Regions from separate parts of the Homo sapiens genome. Here all the other regions are linked to region 1. The links are contacts of gene promoters, found by promoter capture Hi-C in human tissues and cell types (Jung and others, 2019). All regions are on one chromosome and are shown on one strand. Each heading gives the region's core, a stretch centred on a gene start or on the middle of the fragment in contact. The rest is flanking DNA. Distances are from core to core; before and after follow the strand shown.

Region 1 (3,513 bases), core at 119-2,618:
AGATGGAAAAAATATATACATATACAGACATGGGTTTTTGTGCTTTTCCCCTCCAGAAGGTGAGTTGAAAGCATTGCCCCAAAGCAGTGATTCTCTTTTCTTTTTTCTTTTTTTTTCTTTTTTTTGAGATGGAGTCTGGCTCTGTCTCCCAGGCTGGAGTGCAGTGACGCCATCTTGGCTCACTGCAGGCTCCGCCTCCCGGGTTCACGCCATTCTCCCGCCTCAGCCTCCCGAGTAGCTGGGACTACAGGCGCCCGCCACCACGCCCGGCTAATTTTTTTGTATTTTTAGTAGAGACGGGGTTTCACCATGTTAGCCAGGATGGTCTCGATCTCCTGACCTCGTGATCCGCCCACCTCGGCCTCCCAAAGTGCTGGGATTACAGGCGTGAGCCACCGCGCCCGGCCCCAAAGCAGTGATTCTCAAACCTCAGCTGTGTCAGGGTCACCGGGAGGGCCTGGGTCTGGTGAAATACCCCCAGTTTCTGATTCGGTGGGCCAGGGTGGGGCCTGAGAACCTGCATTTTCACGGATTCCCAGGCGATGCTTCTGCTGGTCGTCCGATCCCAGGCTTCAAGAACCAGTACCCACTTTGTGAGGCCGAGGTGGGAGGATTGCTTGGATCCTTGAGTTCGAGACCAGCCTGGCCATCATAGGGAGAACCTCCCCACCCCCAACCCCGCCACAGTTCTTTTTTTTTTTTTTTTTAATTAAAAAATAACTGGGCGTGGTGGCGCTGGCCTGTGGTCCCAGCTACTCCGGAGGCTGAGGTGGGAGGATCGCTGGAGCCCGGGAGGCGGAGGTTGCAGTGAGCTGTGGTGGTGCCACTGCACTCCAGCCTGGGCACCAGAACGAGACCCTGTCTCAAGAAAGATGAAAAGGAATATACTGGAGATTCTGAAGGCAATGACCACACTGACCACAGGTGAAACCCCGCAAAGACGGAGGAACCCAAAGAGCCACGAGAGCTGTGGGTGGAGACGGCCCAGGAGGCTGCAGCGGCCTGCTTTCAACAGCATACTTCTGGGTGGGACCCCCCGGGGCGGACACCGCCGCTCCCCTTGGCCGCGGTGGCGGGCGCCCCCTCCCGACGCTCTTGGGTAGTGCAACCCGGACCGCACAGCGGAGCGGCCGGCCCCCAGGTGGGCGGGGCCAACCCGGACCAGCCTCCCGCCGCCTCAAGTCCTTGGGTTGCTGGGACTGCAGGCCGCCGCGAAGACAGTCCCCGCCCGCCGGGTGGGCGGGCCCAAGGAGACCGCCCCGCTCTTCCCCCCGGGCCTTGATTGGTCAGCGTCGCCCTTGCGCGATGACGTCGTGCCTGGGCGGAAACTTTGCGAGAGTAGCGCGGGAGCTGAGAAGTTGCAGGGTTGAGTTGGTCCCGGCAAGTCCTTGAGCAGTTTGTTCCTCTGTCTTCCCGCTTCCTGGTGCCCCGACTGCGTCCCCACGAACGCCCCGTCCTTACCGCCGGCTGCTGTGGAGTGCCTCGCTGTCTCCCAGGTCCCCGAGTGAGCGTCGAATGGGACCTCTGTGGCTAGGGCAGGCCTGTGTGGGTGGCACTGAGAGGGAGGAGGGGAGGGGGATGTTCGCAGTTTCCTTGCGACCCCAGGGACTTTCTTTGTCCCCGCCATCCACCTCCTTAGGCCTTTGGGATCGCCGACTGGTCTAATGTCGCCGGCCCTTGTGGCTCTGGGAAATTAGCATTGATTAATCTTCCTAACAATTTTTGTTTTTATAGAGACAGGATCTCCCTATGTTGCCCAGGCTGGTCTCGAACTCCTGGGCTCAAGGTATCTTCCTGCCTCGGCTTCCCAAAGTGCTGGGATTACAGGCGTGAGCCCGGCCAGCTCCTAATAATGTTAAGTGCTTGCTAGGAGTCAAGCGCTGTGCTGAGCGCAGGGGCTTCCCACGTCATTGCGTCCCCAGTGCTTAGTGCCAGGCACTGAGCAGAGGCGCGATTCGTATTTGAACTAAAACGAACCCCGTCCCTGAGGAACAAGACCTCTACTGGGAAGTCAAAGAAATGAATAGTGATTGTATGGTGTGATGGGTGCTCAGCTCTTGGTGGACAGAAGTAAGGGGGAGGCTTGTTTGAGAAACGGATACCTGACCTAAGCCTTGGAGGAAGAGGCAGACACTGGAAAACTAGAGTCCCTGCGTTCTCTCACCACTTGCTAAAGGGCCTCTACAACCCCAGGAAACCTCAATAAACCTTTCCTTTCTCCAGATAGATGTCTGTTCTTGCAGATAATTAGAAAACGCATTGCAGAGTATTGGTTCTTTCCCTCTCATTAGGTTCCTGGTTTCAGAGAAGATGACCGAAGAAGTGGATTTCCTGGGACAGGACTCTGATGGGGGTAGTGAGGAAGTGGTCCTAACTCCTGCAGAGCTCATTGAAAGATTGGAGCAGGTAAGCATCCCAGATCGAATCCCTTTGCTCCAGTCAGCCTTTTTATTTAGTTCAACTGTGAATATCAGGGATCACAAGATGAGGAAACGGAATTTGGGGCTTACTTTAGAACAGGGACTGGATCTTACCATCTACATGGAAACGGGAAGCAAGAAGGACATCCTCTGTTAGAGACCTCATCATATCAAACACAGCATCCCCAAGTGGGGTCAGTAAGGGACAGCTTTGGGCACATTCAGTGAACAGTTCACAGAGCAAGGATCCACGTGATATTTTCAGGGACTGTAGAGGTCCCTGAACTTCTTTACCTTAGTCCCTTGAACATCTGCTGTTTCCCTGGAGAATGCCTGTTTAGCAAGAAAATGCTGAAATGCCTGTAAGGGAAAACTGGTCATATTTTTCCTTTTTCTCACATGTTTTTTCTTGAGTCGTCTGCTCTCCATATGTCCACTGCTTATCTAAAATCCTTTCTGAAATATTTCTCCTTTAAGTTGTAATAGCTATGACTTACTGCATATTTCCCATGTGCCAGTAACTGTGTTCTTTACACTTATATCTCATGATGCTCTGGTAACAGGAGTTCAGACTATCTGGATTTAAATCTGTCTGTGACACTCCTCTGTTATGTGATCTTGAGCAAGTTAGGGAGTTTGTCTCAAGCCGTTGCTTGCCTATAAAATTGAGACAATAGGGCCGGGCACGGTGGCTCAAGCCTGTAATGCCAGCACTTTGGGAGGCTGAGGTGGGCGGATCACCTGAGGTCCAGGAGTTCGAGACCAGCCTTACCAACATGGTAAAATCCCGTCTCTACTAAAAAACAAAAATTAGCCGGATGTGGTGGCGCATGCCTGTAATCCCAGCTACTCGGGAGGCTAAGGCCGGAGGATCACCTGAACCTGGGAGGCAGAGGTTGTGGTGAGCCAAGATCCTACCCACCATTGCACTCCAGCCTGGGCAACAAGAGTGAAACTCCGTCTCAAAAAAATAATAAAATAAAATTGAGATGATAATAGTGTCTATGTCCTGGAGTTTTTGATTAAATGTGGTAATTGTGTAAAGCACTCAGCATGCTATCTGACACATGATAAGCACTCACTAGATGTGAGC
Region 2 (3,753 bases), core at 634-3,133, 270 kb before region 1:
ATATGCCAGTATTTGGTTTTCCAGTCCTGAGTTACTTCACTTAGGATAGTGGCCTCTAGCTCCACGCAAGTTGCTGCAAAATACATTATTTCATTTTTTATGGCTGAGTAGTATTCCATGGTGTATGTATACCACATTTCCTATATTCACTCATTGGATGATGGGTACTTAGGTTGATTCCACATCTTTGCAACTGTGAATTGTGCTGTAATAAACATACAGGTGTAGGTGTTTTTTGATATAATGACTTTTTTCCTTTAGGTAGATACCCAGCAGTACGACTGATAGATCGAATGGTAGCTCTATTCTTAGTTATTTGAGAAATCTCCATATTGTTTTCCGTAGAGGTTATACTAACTTTCATTCCCATCAACAGTGTATAAGCATTCCCTTTTCACTGCATCCATGCCAACAAACTGTGGGTTCTGATTGCTTTATTTATATTTAAGCCCTGACACCCGGGGATCTCAGAGAAGCTGGATCCCTGGATCCTACCTGGCCAGCCAATGGGCAGGCTTCCTGAGGGTACACAGCTTTAGGACTGTGGACTCAGGCACTCCAGGGAAGCGGGAAATAAGAACTTCTCCTTAGTGCTTGCAACTGCCACATCAGAACTTAGCTGAAATCCGAGGGATCGGATCCCAAATCCTTCCTCACCAGCCCCCATCCACCAGTCCTTTTGCTCAGGTGATAGGAAGGTCATCCTAATGATAACCACGTGGTGGGTTTCAGCTGTGGAAAATTCCTGGCCCCTTTCTCCTTCTTCCCACCCCCTCCTTCTCCCCTTAAGCACACACACATGCAGCTTTCCCTTCCTTTATTTAAGCAAACAACTCTCCATGATTGGGTACAGCCCCTTCTTATCTAAATAGTCTGCAGATGCATGAAGATGCAGGCGCTTTCTGCTCCTATTCGGAGCTTGTTCTGGTGCCCATCTTCTCCAAACCTACAACAAGTGGCCTCCCTTAGACCTTGCTGACAGCAATCCCTACTGCCTGCTCCCCTAGTAAGTCAGCTCAGGGGACAGGCTGTCCTCAATGTATCAGGGGTGGGATTTTCCCTCCAAAGACTTCAATTTCCCCTCTCTTTCTTGGCTCCTCCCATAACCTGAGGTTGAAACTGCCCAGACATGAGCAAATGGAACAGGGAAAGTCCCAATTTTGTTGTCAGATTCCTATGTAACTTTAGTTGTCCAGGTACATACCACCAGTTGGTTAACACCATCAACCCCTGGTGGGTCTGGGGATGGGGGCTGAGGACTGGGAAGTTTGGTAAAGGGCACAGTCCATAATGTTAATAGATGGGAAAAATAGGAAGGAACCTGTGAGTTTCCATAATGAGCAGGGTCTGAGGGAAAAGAATTAACCCTAAGGTCTAGGACAAGAATGAAATCTAATGAGTGGGTTGAGAAGATCAGCCCCAGCTTTGGGTTTATAAGCATGACTCTCTGGTTTGATTTTCTTCCCATTCCAAAGCGTGGTCAATATTTTGAGTCCTTAGGAGATGGGCTGTGCTGATCATAGAGATGGTGATACTGTAACAGGGGGTGAGGACGCACCTGAAACCATCAGCCTGTTAGAGCTTCCCTACCCAAAGTACATTCTGCACACTGACAGCTTCACAGCTTCAGCCTCACCCGGGTACCCAAGGAAACGTGGTACACATACACTATGGAATACTACGCAGCCATAAAAAATAACAAAATCCTGTGCTTTGCAGTCACATCCAAATGCCACATGTTCTTACTAATAAGTGGGAGCTAAACAATGGGTCCACATGGACATCAAGATAGACAGAATCAATTCTGGGGACTCCAAAAGGAGGAAGGGGTGGGGGCAAGAATTGGGAAATTTCCTATTGGGTACTATGTTCACTATCTGAGTAATAGAGTCAATAGAAGCCCAAACCTCAGCATCATACAATATACCCTTGTAACAAAGCTGCACATGTGCCCCCAAATCCAAAATTTATATTTAAATTTTTAAAAGATTATTCAAATGTTAATATGGCCCACTAGTAGTTTGCAAAAAAAATTATATAATCTTTGGATTAAGAAAAATAACCTCTTTTGATATTAAAAGCATTACGAGTCATGTGTGCTTTAGGTACTTATGGATTATTTGACAAAGCTCCATTGGATAGGCCATGTATGTCTTTATACAAATAAAACTGGAAAAATATGAGGAAAAAAAAGAAAAGAAATGCAGAATTCAAGCCCACCTCAGACCTACCCTTCAGAATCGGCATTTTAACACTGGTCCTCAAGTGAGTCATATACATATTAAAATGTGAGAAACACTCCTTGGACAGCCAAATGTACTCAGTCTTAAGGAAAGAGGGCTCGTTCCCCCTTGCATTTAACTTGCCTCTATTAGCTGATGCCGGGTAAGATGAACTCACAGAGCTTCAGAAGGGACTGCGGCAATATGAAGTGTGGATGTGGGGAGAGGGAGATGACAAAATAACTTCCTGCCTCTCATCCCCGGGCCACGCAGGTCCTATGAGAATGTTTTGCAAAGTAAGATCCCGTGAACTGCTGGCATCAGAGAAACCTAGCACCTTGGTTCTAGAGCCCCTTTGCCAACCTTCCCAAACTTTCCCAATCAGAATGTCTGGGGGTGGGAGCCAAGACCCACATATTAGTAAGCTCCCCTTGGTGATACTCACATAGGCTGAAATTTAAGAACGATTCTCCCTCTGCCCTTCAATTGCTATTGGATGATTAGTACCATGTCCCACCCTCAGGAGCAAAAGTGAATTGCTAGCACTTCTGGACCCAAGGAGGGGAGACAGCCTTTGAAGTTAAGACCAGCCTACCTCTGTGTCCCTTGGTCTTTTATACCTCCTGCCTAGGGAAGTGCCGAAATTTTTCATTAAGGAGGTGCAGGTGCCATGCAGCTTGAGGACAAGCCTGTGGTTCCAAGTGCTGCCAGCATCTCTGAGGCACAAGCGTCAAGCAGTCCTGACCCTTGGGCACCCCAAACTCCACCACGGTGACTCCAGCAGCTGGAACTGAGATACCTTTGCACACACTTCATCATCCTTTTGCAGACTTAAAAAAAATGGAAATGGTGGGTCATGGTGGTGAGCTTCAGTAGGGGGTGGCAATGACATCTCCACCCAGCCTAAATAAATTTTCTTTCTTATTAACCACAGGGAGCTAAAAGGAAATATGGACATTTTCCTTGGCTGGACTAGTATCTCACTATTTTACCAGTCAGGTACATTAGCATGTGAGAATCTTTCTGGACTACAGCATGACTTTGATAGAATGTTTACAAGTCCTCATACCACACCTTAAAAAAAAAGTTGTGTCTCTGTGCTTGGGCGTGGATTTGGGTAACCTGGGAATATTTTATCACTTCTGGGTAAAACTGACAGTTGTCTGCGGTTTGGAGGTGACTTACTGATCAGGGAACTACATCCACTGAAGTTGTCACTGTAATTGCTTGCAGAATTAGAAGTCACATGGAAGAATTCCTGAGGCAAGAAGCACATAACCTAATATGAAACAGCTTGGGCTGGGTATGGTGCAGCACTCTGAGTCCAAAGGGAAGCTCGGCAGGGAGCGCAGACATCACGCCTACGCAAGTGGGATGCAGGAGCCCTGGGTTCTAATTCCAACCAGGCGAGTGACCTGGGAGTCCCAGACTAGTTGGGAAATCCCAGCTATATCCCCATCTTACGTTAAAAGAGTGGATATGTTCCTCTCCAAGGCCTCCTATGTGTCTAAGACTCCAGATAAGGACAAGT
Region 3 (3,726 bases), core at 863-3,362, 310 kb before region 1:
AAGGCCACAGCAAAGGGAAAGTGTCACATCTTTCAATTTGCCTCAGAAAAGCCTGTGGGAAGTGGGGAGGGGGTTGCAGTCTGCAGATGGGAGAGCCATGACAAACCGTTCCAGCAATGCTACCAATGGGATTGCAACCCAGTCTTCAGCAGAGCCAGGGATGCAAGGAAGAGGGGAAAGAATAGGTGGAGAGGTGGGGAGCACATGGACTCGCCTTCATGGGTACTAGGGGACGTCGTGTGGCATTCTGAGTCTGATCCTTCCTGAAACAACGCGAATGAAGAACTGCACACAACTCAACAGAGAAGAGAGCTGCCCTAGAAAGCTTTGGGTTAAGTGACATCAGGGATAGGTCCTGCCATCCTCTGTCCAGTTGGTGTCATCAGCAAAGTTTGGGCAACGTTACAGAAAACCTACAGAAGACAGTCACCCCAGCCTCAGCTGGTCAGGACTCTATAGTGGGAAGTGAACAAAAAAGAGTTTATCCCATGGCTCACCTCCTGGGAATAATGACAAAGATGATGATAACAATGGGGGCATCGGCATGAAGCAAGAGACTTCCATGCCTGATTTTACTCTGTTGTTAATTAAGTTTGTAATTCTGAGTCTACAGTGTCACCATTCTTGGCTTAGTTTGCATCTTGTAAAAGAAGAACGCTGAGGCATAGGGTGTCCTTGGCAAAGATGCGGATGTCCACTGAGGTCTGCGTGCCCCTTCCCCTCTGTGGACTAGCTGCTGCCCAGCCAGAGACTACACTTCCCAGACCCCCCTGTGATTTGTTCTCAGCAATGGAATGATGAGCAGGAGTAATTGGAGCACTTCCAGACCAAAAGGGACAAAAAACAGATGCATCTTTTCCAAACTCTCTTCTATATCCTGGCAGGATGTTGGAATCCACAGCAACCTTGGAAACCACATGCCCAGAGCCCCCATCCTTCAGCCTGTGTCCCCAAACACCCATACAGAGTGAGCGCAGACCAGGACTTGATATGAATGAGAAATAGCCCCTCATTATGTTCAACTAGTGACATTCTAAGGTCTCTCCATCAAAGCAGCCTTTAAGCTTCAAGTTTATGACTAACAATTTACAAATACTTTCTTGTTAATATTTTTAACTTAACTTGACCTAGAGAATGACAACCATGGGAAATAAGTCAGATATTTTTCTCATTTTACAAATAAAAACCTGAAGCTAAAATGCTGAAATTGTTCCCCAAAGTCATTGACAAGCAGCAGAGCCAGGAGGCAGGAGCAGGGTCTTGGATTAGGTTTGAGTGCAAGAAATAGGGTGGTGCCGGCATTCATACCACAGGGCTCTGGGTGTCATCGTGGGCCTACCTGGGACTGCCTCCGTGATTTTAAGGAATTGTTTAATTTCCCTCAGGACCGTTTCTTGGATAATAAACAGGGAACAATAGGCCATGTCAATCATGTAAAGTTGTTGTAAAGATAAGGGAAGGCCGGGCATGATGGTGCATGCCTATAATCCCAACACTTTGGGAGACCAAGGCGAGAGGATCACTAGAGCCCAGGAGTAGAAGGTTGCAGTGAGCTATGACTGTACCACTGCACTCCAGCCTGGGTGACAGAGCGAGGCTCACACTTACTGAACATCTACCACAGACCAAGCACTGTTCCACCATCTTGAATCTATTGACTCATTGACTCATCCAACCACCCTACAAGTTATATCAAGTTATATCCTCCCTATTTTCAAGATGATGAAATTAGGAAAAGTTAAGTAATTTCTCCAACAATGCATATCCTTAGCCTGGATTCTCCAGAGAGCCAAGAGGGAGGAAGGGAGGGTGGGATCCGCCCCAAGCTGGTTATCACTAAATGCATCTTCTTGACCTGGTCAGACTGTCCGCCTAGAAGCTTCTTAAGGTGTGACTAATGACTGTGAGTCTGGGGCAGGAGGATGCCTGGGTATGAGCGCTGAGTAGGGTCCCCAGGAAGCCCCAGGGCAGAAGATAAGAGGAGCCCAAGTGAGCCTGAGGCGGGGCACGGCCAGGCTGACTGCTGGAGTCAGTGGGAGTCTGTGCAGAGCTGGTCGCCACCTCTGAGGCTGGCACAAGAGACAGGCGAACTCGAAAAAGCATGCAGTCGGGCAAAGTCGGGTATGTTACAAGCCTACGATGTCATGGGGCTAGTCTTTCTCTCCTTGTGTGAAAGACGTGGTTCCCATTCCTGACCAACCACAGGGAGGCATGCATTGTGAGCTAGTTAGCTCCTGGTGGGAACAGGCTTACACAAATCCACACATATGTTCTGTTCCAGTCTACGGCCAATGCCTGTCTTGGAGGAAGAAACGACCCAAGTACAGGGAAGCTGCAGCTTTCTGCTCAGGACTGCCAGCATGTGGAGCTTCCAGGTCTAGGGTGGATGAGACACATCCCCAGGGAACTCCCTCTGGCTAGATGATTGAAGATGTTAACGATGCATATAGTTGCACCCAGCCATGCTCACCAGGGGAGAAAAATGCTGCTGCCCCCACCAAGCAAGGGTCTTTCAAGGAGCTCCTAGTCAGGCTTGTGTTTTCAAATCTGACACACACAAACACACACACACACACACACACACACACACACAAAGGCCAGGCACAATGGCTTCTGCCTGTAATCCCAGCACTTTGGGGAGGCTGAGGTAGGTGGATCACTTGAGGTCAGGAGTTCAAGACCAACCTGGCCAACATGGTGAAACCGCATCTCTACTGAAAATACAAAAATTAGCCAGGCATGGTGGCAGGCGCCCATAATCCCAGCTACTTAGGAGGCTGAGGCAGGAGAATTACTTGAACCTGGGAGGCAGAGGTTGAACTGAGCCAAGATTGCCCTACTGCACTCCAGCCTGGGGGACAGGGCAAGACTCCTTCTCAAAAAAAAAAAAAGAAAAGAAAAAGTTTAGTTCTTTGATTATACAAGTAAATACTTCTCCATTAAAAGTAATTTATACTGTTGTAGAAAAATTGGAGGTATAAATACACTTAGAAGTTTGAAGAGCTCATCTTCCCTGGTCTATGTCCTCTGCTCCTGGAGACCCAGCCTCTGTGGCCCTGTGACCTGCAGGTATTGGGAGATCCCCAGCTAGACGTCATGTCCCCTGAGATGCCTAGAAATGGTCTCTTCCCAGGGTGAGAGAGGAATGAAAACTTAAAGGAAAGAAACTCTGGGCTTCCAAGATGGCCAAATAGGAACAGCTCCAGTCTGCAGCTCCCAGCGTGATCGATGCAGAAGATGGGTGATTTCTGCATTTCCAACTGACGTACCTGGTTCATCTCACTGGGACTGTTTGGACAGTGGGTGCAGCCCACGGAGGGCAAGCTGAAGCAGGGCGGGGAATCACCTCACCTGGGAAGCACAAGGGGTCAGGGGATTTCCCTTTCATAGCCGATGGAAGCCATGACAGACTACCTGGAAAAACGGGGCACTCCTGCCCAAATACTGTGCTTTTCCCAAGGTCTTAGCAATGGGCAGACAAGGCAATTCTCTCCCGTGCCTGGCTCGGCAGGTCCCATGCTCATGGAGCCTTGCTCACTGCTAGCGTAGCAGTCTGAGATCCATCTCCTATGCCTGGCTGGGGGAGGGGCATCTGTCATTGCTGAGGCTTGAGTAGGTAAACAAAGTGGCTCTGAAGCTCAAACTAGGCAGAGCCCACTGCAGCTCAACAAGGCCCACTGCCTCTAGACTTCACCTCTGTGGGCAGGGCATAGCTGAACAAAAGGC

Evidence for each region. The method cuts DNA at HindIII sites, captures the fragments that hold promoters and counts their contacts. A contact is called where the count stands out against the background at its distance.
Region 2: a contact is called between a fragment that was not itself captured here and the fragment with the promoter of GINS4 in region 1, in 1 of the 25 tissues and cell types used here (H1 embryonic stem cells).
Region 3: a contact is called between a fragment that was not itself captured here and the fragment with the promoter of GINS4 in region 1, in 1 of the 25 tissues and cell types used here (mesenchymal stem cells).

What each region holds. Positions count from the first base shown.
Region 1 is chr8:41,527,893-41,531,405 of GRCh38, forward strand. It overlaps GINS4 (GINS complex subunit 4), which reads left to right and starts at 1,369. Exons shown (of 8, transcript NM_032336.3): 1 at 1,369-1,504; 2 at 2,292-2,406. The coding sequence starts at 2,311. RefSeq lists a silencer at 915-1,344. The HindIII fragment of the contact is 17,762 bases long and covers 1-3,513 here.
Region 2 is chr8:41,257,800-41,261,552 of GRCh38, forward strand. No RefSeq gene overlaps it. Among named protein-coding and RNA genes, the nearest start is that of MIR548AO, 11 kb to the right of the region's middle. RefSeq lists an enhancer at 1,138-1,197. The HindIII fragment of the contact is 5,420 bases long and covers 1-3,753 here.
Region 3 is chr8:41,221,834-41,225,559 of GRCh38, forward strand. No RefSeq gene overlaps it. Among named protein-coding and RNA genes, the nearest start is that of MIR548AO, 47 kb to the right of the region's middle. The HindIII fragment of the contact is 4,202 bases long and covers 12-3,726 here.